Linked DNA regions of Homo sapiens: all the other regions are linked to region 2. Evidence: promoter capture Hi-C in 16 types of primary human blood cells and fetal thymus (Javierre and others, 2016). All regions are on one chromosome and are shown on one strand. The core of a region is centred on a gene start or on the middle of the fragment in contact, and the rest is flanking DNA. Distances in the headings are between cores, read along the strand shown. Region 1 overlaps EFHB (EF-hand domain family member B). Region 2 holds the start of KCNH8 (potassium voltage-gated channel subfamily H member 8). Region 3 overlaps RAB5A (RAB5A, member RAS oncogene family).

Evidence for each region. The method cuts DNA at HindIII sites, captures the fragments that hold promoters and counts their contacts. A CHiCAGO score of 5 or more calls a contact.
Region 1: a contact is called between a fragment that was not itself captured here and the fragment with the promoter of KCNH8 in region 2, in 2 of 17 cell types (M1 macrophages and total B cells). The highest score is 7.1, in M1 macrophages.
Region 3: a contact is called between a fragment that was not itself captured here and the fragment with the promoter of KCNH8 in region 2, in 1 of 17 cell types (total B cells). The highest score is 6.8, in total B cells.

What each region holds. Positions count from the first base shown.
Region 1 is chr3:19,889,065-19,892,786 of GRCh38, reverse strand. The region is part of intron 9 of EFHB (EF-hand domain family member B); the gene reads left to right. Among named protein-coding and RNA genes, the nearest start is that of EFHB, 43 kb to the left of the region's middle. The HindIII fragment of the contact is 3,636 bases long and covers 542-3,722 here.
Region 2 is chr3:19,146,412-19,150,187 of GRCh38, reverse strand. It overlaps KCNH8 (potassium voltage-gated channel subfamily H member 8), which reads right to left and starts at 1,678. Exons shown (of 16, transcript NM_144633.3): 1 at 1,393-1,678. The coding sequence starts at 1,468. RefSeq lists enhancers at 2,236-2,829, 2,830-3,423 and a silencer at 3,117-3,288. The HindIII fragment of the contact is 4,663 bases long and covers 907-3,776 here.
Region 3 is chr3:19,948,513-19,952,231 of GRCh38, reverse strand. RAB5A (RAB5A, member RAS oncogene family) reads right to left here. Exons shown (of 6, transcript NM_004162.5): 2 at 1,171-1,426. The coding sequence starts at 1,333. Among named protein-coding and RNA genes, the nearest start is that of RAB5A, 3.3 kb to the right of the region's middle. The HindIII fragment of the contact is 770 bases long and covers 866-1,635 here.

The sequences.
Region 1 (3,722 bases), core at 1,110-3,609, 740 kb before region 2:
AACTCTGAGCCTCAAGTGATCCTCCTGCCTCAGCCTCCCATGTTGCTGGGATTACAGATGTGAGCTACTGCTCCCAGCTCTCACACTGATTTTTGAGAAGTATACTCAACCAAGTGGTTATTATCCTTATGATCAAGGATTATGTAAACCCAACAAGAAAATCAGGAGGCTGAAATAGAATTAAATTTGAACCTCCTAGAATCCTTTTTATGCCTGGTTGCTACCAAAAGGGCGGACCAACCCTACTGGCCCGGGATTGCTGTTGCATGGTGCTGTTGCACCATGTCCAGGAATGGTCATGGAAGTAACACCAATTTTCAAAATAAGTCTTTATAACCCCTGCCCCTTTTATTCTGATTATTATTCAGGAAGCAGCTGAGATAGAATGAGTCCTTTCTGGGGACAGCTGCATTGAGTGACCAAACAGCTTTACTAAGATGTGGGCACCAGGAGCTGGTGAGAGAAGTAGACAGTTTTTGAGAAGGCCATTCCAATGCACAATAATACCATATGACAATGGACGGTAGGGAGTAAGAAAGCTTCATTGAATACCTTGACTAATAGCTCATTGCTGAATAGCTTTTGTGCTATAGGGTGCACCCCATTGACAGACTGAAAATGTTCCAGAAAGCAAAACGCACAACCCAGATTAACTTAACTTTATGGGCCCTACTGTTGGGACTAGACCCATATGATTGGACTGGAATGGCAATTCCATAACTTGAATAAGTGTCAATATTGGTGTGGCACCACCAATAGCTCTGAGGAGGGAGGGGTCAGAGGTTCACTGTAGTCAGTCTGTCAGGAGCATGAGGGAGATCCCTATGTGTGATGTGTCCTCTCTCACCGTAAGACAAATGAGTCAACTTCTGGCAGTCACAAGTTTGGCATGTAGTGGTGGCTTCTGCATTAGAAACATGGAGTTCTTTACCTTGTGCTCTGTGTGTAATGGGGGTGTGTTGCCATGTATGTACAGGCAGCAATGTTGGCAATCTGGATGGTTCAGGCTTGATCAGCAGCTTGATTCCAATCATTCCCATGCTTATGGTGAGTATCTACATGAACTACCCAGATAGTTCAATCAGTAGCCATAATTTTTGTCCTATAGTTTGCAGTCCCTTAAAGGGGTGTCTTTAATCTGCTATTTTATTGTTTTCCAAGTGGCCAACCAAATAGGTAGGCCACAGTCAACAGCCCAAGAGTCAGTAAAAATATAACAGGTTTATCAAGGGGAGTATTTGCCAGAGCCATGAGAATGGCCTTTAGTTTAGCTCAGTGAAGACCACCAGGTTTCAGCTCAGCCAGACTATAAGTGAAACAGGCCCAGGCATTTAGAGGAGGTTCTGTGAATTGAGGGTCCTCTTGAGCCAGTGGCTTTGCTTCAGGTGACAGAGTGGTGAATAATTTTTTTTTTCTAAAGGATCACTTCTCAGCTGAGTGTGGTGGCTCACACCTACAATTCTAGCATTTTGGGAGGCTGAGGCAGGAGGATAGTTTGAGGCTGGGAGTTTGAAACCAGCCTGGGTAACATAGTGAGACTCCATCTCTACAAGTAAACACAAATAGTTAGCCAGGAGTGGTAGTGCCAGCTACTCAGTAGGCTGAGGCAGGAGGATCACCTGAGCCCAGGAGTTTGAGGCTGCAGTGAACTATGATTGTGCCACTGCATTCCAGCCTGCACAACTGATTGATAGCCTGTCTCAGCAGCAGCAGCAATAACAACAACAAAAATATTGCTACTCTTTTACACGTAAAGCTGAGATGTTACTGGGGTTGGGCTGGCTGCATTCTTGAATATGCCATTTCCATTTGACATATGAGGCTTGTTTGCTCCTTTTTCATTTTGTTAGTCATTTAGTCCAAGTTGGCCGGCCTCAAAATGATTATTGGCTGGAGAGTCAGAAGGCCTCCATGGGTCCAGTGTTCAGTTTCCAGAAGAGCTCAGTGACAGGCTAATAGCTGCTTTTCAAAAGAGGTCTACCTGGTAATTATGTTAGGGAGGCAATAAGTCCTAAACTTCACGGTGCACCTCCAAGTGAAGGTTGCCTTTCTTTTCCAGAGGCTCTAATTGGCAAAACCACCAGTTATAGACTTGTAACTCAAAGGAGTCATTAGGGTTATGGGGTCCCAAAGGTAATAACAATTGTCTATACATGGCTCTTCTTGATCAGGATAATCCCCTCTGTCACATATGAACATTCACTCTACAGACATGGAAAGCATCAATACCAATTAAATATTCAGGCTTGGAAGCCGTAGCAATAATACATGGTTATCTTTAATTCTTCTCTGCAAACTGTGCCCAAACCCCATTAACTGAATTCGGACATCCTTCCCTACCATCCTCTCCCAGGACTGACTATGATGATGACTTTGGGAACTGTATCCAAACCATAAAAATGTGAGAATCTCACCCCACTGAACAGATGCATCCCTCTTGAAGACCTGGAGCCCTTGGTCCTACTTCTAATCATCTTTCTCCCTAAAGCGGATGAGATCAGGGCTTGGGGGAGGGAGGGATTAAGGGTGCAGAGGGAGAGAATGGCTTTGCACTAGTAAGTAAGAAATATTTACTTTGATTTTGAGTGGCATGGTGGTGGCATGGTAGCTCCATGAAACAAACCACCAGTGTTTTCAGTGCACACAAAGCCCTGCATATTAGGCGGTAATTTATCGTTGACAGCATCTGTTTCAGTTTTGGGGCTCTCTTGATTCAACAGCCACATCCCGCATTGCTTTTCAGCTAGGATGAGTGTGGGTTTGCATTTTTGGTTGTAGTAGAGACTTTTGTTTGTTTTTGAGATGGAATTTCACTCTTGTTGCCCAGTCTGGAGTGCAATGGCGCAGTCTCGGCTCACTGCAACCTCGGCCTCCTGGATTCAAGCGATTCTCCTGCCTCAGCCTCCCGAGTAGCTGGGATTACAGGCATGTGCCACCACGCTGGCTAATTTTGTATTTTCAGTAGAGACGGGATTTCTCCGTGTTGGTCAGGCTCCCAAAGTGCTGGGATTACAGGCATGAGCCACCGTGCCTGGCCTGTAGTAGAGACTTTTATAAAGGAGTCTGCTTTAATCCAGGGCATTTGCAGCTGTATTGTCAAGATCATATATTTTAAGTTCTCATTCTGTTTGAATACAAGGGTTAAGTAGGGAAGTTTTCCAGGGCTGTGGGTCTGACTGCAAGAATTTATAATTCATCGAGTCAGTTTCTCGTTCTCCAGGGGATTGCCTCCATCAGCATTGTAAATCCAGTCCTGGGCAGTAAGAGCTTAAATACTACGCAGTGACTCATTTATGATTCCTCTTGGGAGTTATTTCCTCTCAGGGAAGTCTCTCTGAGGGGGCCAAAGCTCCCTTATAGCAGGAAGAATTCACTGCAGAAACAAACAAGAAAACTGGGACCTTTGCCATCATCTCTGAATGGATTTAAGGTTGGCTTGATAGACTGCAGGAGGGACTGAGTGCTAAGATGTCCCAGCTGTTGACATTCTTCCTTAACGAACATTGTGTGCTCTGCCCCTTCATCTCCCAAGTGAATCAGCCAGTTTCTGCTGAGAGCCCTTATACATTTCCCTCTGTTCATACTCAGTGTAGGTACTTCTGTCTTTAACTGCTGTCTGAAAGGAGGTGAGACTTTTTCCCTCCACCCTCCTCCCCCTACTTACCAGGATGAATCTTAGTGTTACTTGTTTCAATGGGGCTGACCATCAGATTGGTAGCATT
Region 2 (3,776 bases), core at 429-2,928:
ATTATCTAAAAAAGACATACGTAATAACATTACACCTCATACATAACATCTAACACATTTAGAATATAAAAGGGAAAAGAATGGCTAGATGTAAAGATAAAAACACTTATGAAGTGACCAAATATCCACACCAACTACCATGATTAGACTAGATGTCAAAAATAAAAACTGAACAAAATTAAAGTGATTCATTTCTTTCTCATGTAAACTTTTCCAACTATCCCTGAAGCATAAGTCCAAGACTTGCTTCCCACCCAAAGATAAGACTGTGTATTTAGACTACTGGAGTGGAAATGAAATTAGTATTGCTCTCCCATATCAGCTCCAAGAAATATACAGAGTAAAAGCAATGACACTTGAACCACTAAGAAGGACTTTAGGATAAATGAGTTTCTCTGAGTCTCAACAGAAAAATGGAAGACAGTGCACAGAAGCAAGATAAGCTAGAAAGAAGATGAGGATATTCGTAGTGAAACCAACTGAGAGCATTTGTTAGGGGTGGTAGTACAGACTCCTAATTACAGGGTTAAAGCCAGCTAGGAAGATCCACAGGGTCAAGTAGAGAGCTTGAAAAGCCTGAGAAGGAGTGGGGACCTGACCGTGGTCCTGAAAGAGAACAACTTGCAGATGATAACGAACCGTCTGCTAGCAACCACACAACATCCTATCTATTTTTTTTCCTACTGTAGCTTAAATGAGCTAAATGTCCAATAATATTCGTACTCAAAAAAAAAAAACTAAAAACTTTCTCTTATCATCAAATCGTCTTTATTCATGTCCTTCTTCCTGAACAGCCTCTGCTTGAGTGTTAGGCTCATTTAAGGATTAAAAGATACGCTATTCTAGCTCAAAAGCAGGAATCAAGGTTCTGACAAACTCACAACACTTAAAATTCTACAGAAAGCTTACACTTGGCAATCCTGCATTTCTTAAACTCAGATAGAAAATCATACCTATCCGAAATATATCACGGAATGAAGCTCCAAGAAAGAACACTCCAAGCTCTCCTTTTGATCTAGGGAGCCTTGAAACTCTAGAAAGATTAGGTACACCGATATTCCCCTTTTCACCTCAGAAAATTACAACCAATTCCCTAAAGATACACCAAAATGCAGGTCCCACAGTGAATACGGGCGTCGGTCTTTCCTCAGGCTGCGTTTCAGTCCTTAACAAACCCAAGAACTCAAGAGAGCCAACTATTACACCAATACAAAGTGTTAATACTACACCAAACCATGAGGGAACAAATTTCTCCGCACAAAAGATACCTTGGCAAGAACAGAAGAAAATTCACTCCGCTGGTGCAAAAGGGAAGGTGGGAGCAAAAGTAATGTGTACGAGAAAAATCAGTCTCAGAAAATGCCATACCACTCGTTCAAGTGTAAGACTTACGTGTTCCGTCAAAACGGGTGGCGATGGTGTCCAGGAAGGTGTTTTGCGGCGCCAGTAATCCTTTCATAACCGGCATTTTTCCAGCGTGGTGTGAAATTCTCCATCAAAGTTTGTCCAGAAGGATGGTTCGAAAGGAAAGTGCCAAGAAGGGAGAAGGGGAACCTGATGACGGCAGGGAAGGGGGACCCGGCCTGACGGCGGGGCCGAGCAGGGGAAGTGGAAGGATGGAGGGAGAAAGGGAGAGAGTTCCAGCCGCCCCGGCTGTGGCAGGAGGAGCCCCAAGAGCGCTCCCCGAGCCCGCCCCGCACCTCCAGGCTCAGCCCGGCGCAGGCTCCCTCTCCCGCCCCCTCCACCCCCGCCAGCTGCTGAAACCCCCCCACCGTCCCTCCGCGGGCAACAGTGCCCGCCAGGCGCCGCCGCGCGGTGCCTCGCCCCCCACGTCGCCCGCCCGGAAAGAGCCCGCAGTGGCCCGGGGCGCCGCGCCCTGACCGACGTCTCTGGGGTCTGGGAGGGCGGCGCTGAGAGCTGGGAGAGGCGCTGAGCCTCCCGGTCTCCACGGGACGCCGGGAAAGGAGAGCGAGCGCAACTCCCACGCCCCGGGAGCCAGTGAACAAAGACCCCTTTGTTCCCTCTCCGTCCCACTCCCGGGGAGACTGGAGTCCCGTGGGTGTGGTATTGGAGAAAGGGAGGAGACAGGTCGGGGCAGGTATCCGGCCTCAACCTAGAACTTAGGAGGGGGAGGCCCCCCAGTGGTGTCCAAGGGAGCAGAGGCAGCCAGGAGCCCCACGGGGAGGCGGCCCCCTTCCGGAGCACTTGCCATTGCGAGCCCACGCGACAGGGGCAGGGCAGCCCGAGTTAGTTGTGAGGCCCATCCCCAGTCACCAGGGTCTTTTAGTCCGGGAAACTGGCCCCGAGCTCCAAAAAGGGGTGCTTCAGCCCTTCTCCCCAAATTGCCATTGGCCTCCCCAAGCCATCCCAAACTTTAAAAAAATAGCCTTTTGAACGGACAATGGATGGTTTCCCATTCTCCGGTAAAATGTGAATAAAGCATTTCTAGAAAAGTTTGCTATTTTTATTAATTTGCAAAATACCACGTAAGTAAAAACAGTAAGGCTGCCTTCCAAAAATAGCTTCAAACACAAATCCCCTAGCCTGCCCCCCTTTCCCCAGCCCCCACTCCCGAAGACTGACACCTCCAAGAAGAAAGCCTGGCGGACGGCCAGGAACTGAAGGCGTCTCAGAAAACGAAAGTGGTCTCTCCCAGTCCTCCCCCCTGGCCCCCCCCGCGGGGACTCCCTCTCGGCCAACGTTCTGCGGGGAAAGTCGCCCAAGCCTGCGGCACAGCCCTGTGGGGAGTGCAAGGGGACACCCAGAGCCCGAACTTTATAGAAAACTCTGCAAGGGAGGTGGAGTGTGGAAGGGAAGTTGAGAGCCCCAGGGTAGAAAAACAAACGTAAGCCCAGGTGCTAGTGCACCCGGAAGGAAAGGAGGGAAAAAGCAAACAGGTGTCAGAGCCGCGGCGAGGCAGCTCTGATCTCCAGGAACTCGGGCGTGGCGGGAGGAGGGAGGGAGGGCCCACCCCCCGCCCCCTTACTAAGGGGGTTTCTTGTTTCAATTATCTCGGCTGTTGGGGCTTCGGGGGGGACCCCGCGGGTTTCGTCACGTCTGCCTTGGGCTCCGGGAGGGAGGGGGAGAAGAGAGAGAAGCGGCATCCCCCTCTCCCCGCCCCCAGGCCCCCTTTCTCGTGATGCACTTCCTGCGGCCGAGGATTCCCTTTGTGTTGAAATTCGAGAAGATCCGGCAGAGGCTCTAGGCTAGCTGGGCGGGGGCGCGCCGGGGAGGGGACAGGATTCCGGAGTGGGCGGCGCGGGGCGGCCATCCCAGAAGAGAAGCTACCAACGTGGGGTTCCTCGCCCAGCTGCACCCTGCTTCTGCCGCAGGTCCGTCCCTGTCCTCCCCTCAATCCTTGTGTCCCACCCCAGCTTCGCTTTTCGGAAACCGAGCTCACGCGGGTGGAGTCCCCCACGCGGCGAGCCGATCGCAACTGCAGGTGGCTATGTGGCTCAGTCTTGGGCGGAGCTGGGGAGAAAAAGATGAGGGAGTCCCTGTTGTTTGGGTGGCGCATCGTGTCCCAGAAAATTCAGGCTGTTGCTGCCGATGTAAAACGGAGATAAACGCCACCCGTGAATTGGCTCGAAGTTCAGGATGAAATGTATTAGTTGTAAGCTATGACTGTGGTTCATAACAATTTGCACTGTAGGGCCGTGTGTGTAAAAATTGTTTCCTCGTGGTCCTGATCTGTTACCTAATATATGAAATCACTGCAAGAAGCAAGCCACATAGTGGCTTAAAAATGACAACCCAAAAGAAAGCCCCAGTTTCAT
Region 3 (3,719 bases), core at 1-2,500, 800 kb before region 2:
GTCCCACTGCTATATAATTATAGGTTTCTTTGATTAAAGTCAATTTTTTTTAAGAGATGGGTTCTCATTATGTTGCCCAGGCTAGACTTGAACTCCCAAGCTAAAATAATCCTGCCTCAGCCTCCAAATACCTGGGACTACAGGAATGCACCACCATGTCCAGCTAAAATTCAATTTTCCCATTTCACGTCCTCTCTTGACAATACTGTACTGTTTGTTGTCTCCTTTTCACCCTGCATCTTACCTTCCCCTCATCTCTGTCCCACCATAACCACCCTTGTCAGTGCCTACTCTTTCCCTTCTTCTTTCATCTTTTTCTTCAGGTTCCATTTTCCTGTTATGTCCCTTTCCATTAATCACTTTTTCTCTTCCCTCAGCTTAGGAGCATTCTTACATATGCATCTCAGCAGGGAGCACCTGTAATCACAGCTACCTGGGAGGTTGAGGCTGGAGGCTCACTTGAGGCCAGGAGTTCAAGACCAACCTGGAAACACAGCGAGACTCTGACTCTTAAAAAAAAAAAAAAAAAACTTGCCTGGCATGGTGGCATGCACCCTTAGGTCCAACTACTTGGTGGGAGGCTAAGGCAAGAAGATCATTTGAGCCTAGAGTTTCAGGCTGCAGTCTGCAGTGAGCTATGATCCGGACACTGCACTCCAGCCTAGGCGACAGCAAGATCCCATCTCTTAAATACCAAAAAAAAGTACATCTAGCAGTATTTAATTACATTTAATTTTACAAGTAAGTATAATTATTTGCAAATACTTCAGTTATATAGATCAGAATTTAAGGTTACCTTTTTTACTATTCATTTTAAACCAATATAATTGAGCACAAACATGTACTGTATTAATTTGAAGAAGCTTCTAGTTGTTAGCTAGAAATAGGTATCAGGTCAAATGTTATTACTTGAGACACTGATTCTACTCATGTTTTTTATCTGTATTTTAGCTACAATATAACCACAAGGGATTAACCAAACAATCAAATATAAAAACACATCATTTTAACAAAGATAAAGGCAAGTTTTAAAGCTAAGGTAAGCTGAACAGCTCTTTTCTTCACTCTATGACTTATTTAGCTATTCATAATCACACAATTGGAACATCAAAATATTTTCTGTCAATGTATGATTCGATTAAATGAAGCAGGGAAAAAAGAAAATCTCACCCCCAATGGTACTCTCTTGAAATTCATGAAATTGGCCTTTCACAAAACGAAGCACTAGGCTTGATTTGCCAACAGCGGACTCTCCCAGAAGTACTAGTTTGAACTGGCATATTTTATTTCCCGTATTTGGCCCGTTGGGTCTTGTTGCGCCTCGACTAGCCATGTCCAAATTTGAAATAAGTCCCTAATTTCAGACTCTTCAATGAACTTCCAGAATTCAAGGGGCCAATATTCTTCTTTCTGGAGGTAAAGAAACCTGTAAAGAAACAATTATGAATTAAATATACAAATCAGTAAAGCAAATTTACTATTAATCACTTTAAATATTGCCTATAGCATGATTATCTTAAACTCTACTAGACCTTCAATGCCCTTTAGATTATGTCACTATCTTTTAAAGGAAATTCAAAGGTATAGGATGTGAGTCCAAAATTACTTTTTTTTTTAAAGGCTAACCTCAAAGCTTCAAGTTTGTGCCAGGCAGTGCTTTAAGTACTTAACTTCTCAACAATCCTATAAAATGAGATATTATTACAATCCTTATAAATGAGGAAACAAGCACAGAGATGTTAAGAAGCTTAATTGAGGTCACACAGTTATTGTCACAGAAGTGACAGAGCCGAGTTTCAAACCCAGGCAACCTGAGAGATGACTCGAGTTCAAGTTCTGTAGCCAGGCTACTTGGATTAACATTGTTTTGAGAAAAATTATGTTATTAATAAATGGGAAACTTTTAGAACAGATCCTAAAATTTAGTATTATTTGAAGTTTTCTGTTAAACGATGCATTTTTCATTTAATTAATGGTAATTTTGGACAACAAATATTTTCAGTCTCCCAGGTTTGTGTGCCTAACGGCAGACTTAAAACTGTTTCCTCATCTGCTCAAGCACACCATACACAGAAATGCTAACAGTTGTTCTCCATGTGGTGATTATTACTGACTTATTTACTTACAATAATTGTAACTTTTTTGTAGTCTTTAGACGAACAATATACATGCCATTTTTAAAAAAATTTTTTTGGAGAAAGGGTTTTGCTCTCTCACCCAGGCTGGAGTGCAGTGGCGTGGTCACAGCTCACTGCAACCTAGACCTCCTGGGCTCAAGCAATCCTCCTGCCTCAACCTCCTGAGTAGCTGAGACTACAGGCGCTCAGAACCATGCCAGGCTAATTTTTTGGTAGAGACACTTAACTGCTATGTTGCCCAGGATGATCCTGAACTCTCGGGCTCAAGCAATCCTCCTGCCTCAGCCTCGCAAAGTGCTGGGATTACAGGTGTGAGCCACCACGCCCAGCCTGCAGGCCATTATTTTTTATTTAAACAACACATTAAAGAAATCTAGCCTGAATGGCGACTTCTATGCTAATTTTTAATCTCTAAGGAATTAGTGAATATTTGAAGAACCTTTTTCAATCCACTCACAAACCAATCTTAACAGTTTCCTTCTATCTTTAATCAAAATCCGAATACATGCTAATATATTAAACCTGATGATTCCCTCTCTAAAAACCCTGCTATATTTCATTTAGCTACCTCATATAAGAAATACGTCTTTCACACTGGACAGAGTGGCTTATACCGGTAAATCCCAACACTTTGGGGGTGAGGCAGGAGGACTCTGAGACCAGCCTGGGCAACACAGTGAGACCCTGTCTCTATATTAAAAACAAAAGAAAGAAATATGCCTTTCCCATAAAATGAGCTTATAATACGCTCTTCATAATGAATTCCCTAACATGTCCACGAGATCTTAGTTCTTAAGGCAATGAAACTACCTCCTTGCCTTAACTAAACACCAGCTTTTTAGAGTCCTTATCTTTTACCATTACATACTGAAATATTTACAGATTTATTGACGTAATATCTGAGTTGCTTCCAAATAACAAGGTATAAATAAAAATGCCCCCTCCTCCACAAACATACCAGATTTAGGGGTGTAATCCTGGCTATACCAATTTCCGTCTGGGCAAACTCTTTAATTTCCAAGTTTCTATTCCCATAATATCTAACTTGCATAGCTGATGTGACAATTAAATAAAACAATACATGTAAACAATCTCTAATATACATAGTAGGGATTGAAATTGCCAATAATGTGCTCCTTTGATAAGAAAATGATAAAATATCAATAGAACATCATATATACTGAAAATGCACCAATACATCTTCAGATATTACACACAATCAAAACATTTTCCATTTGTCTTTTTATTTAAGAAAACAAGAAATTACTTATCAAGGACAATATGCTCCAAATTTCTACGGCACTTCCAAAATTTTAGGGAAAATATCAGACTCCCATTAAAAAAAAAAATCAAACAAGATTCTGATTTCACTTTGACTTTTAAGGTTTAAAGCTACTTAATTGTGGCTACTCCCCCTAAGGATCTCAAACAGGAAATAACTAAAGTTAATGGTAAATATACACTTAGCATAACACTAAGGTTAAAAATTACGTGCATTCATTTGTATTCACTGCTTACTGAAACTTCTGTTTTGCAAAACAAGAATTTTGCATAATATACATTTGTAATCTTTTGAAAATA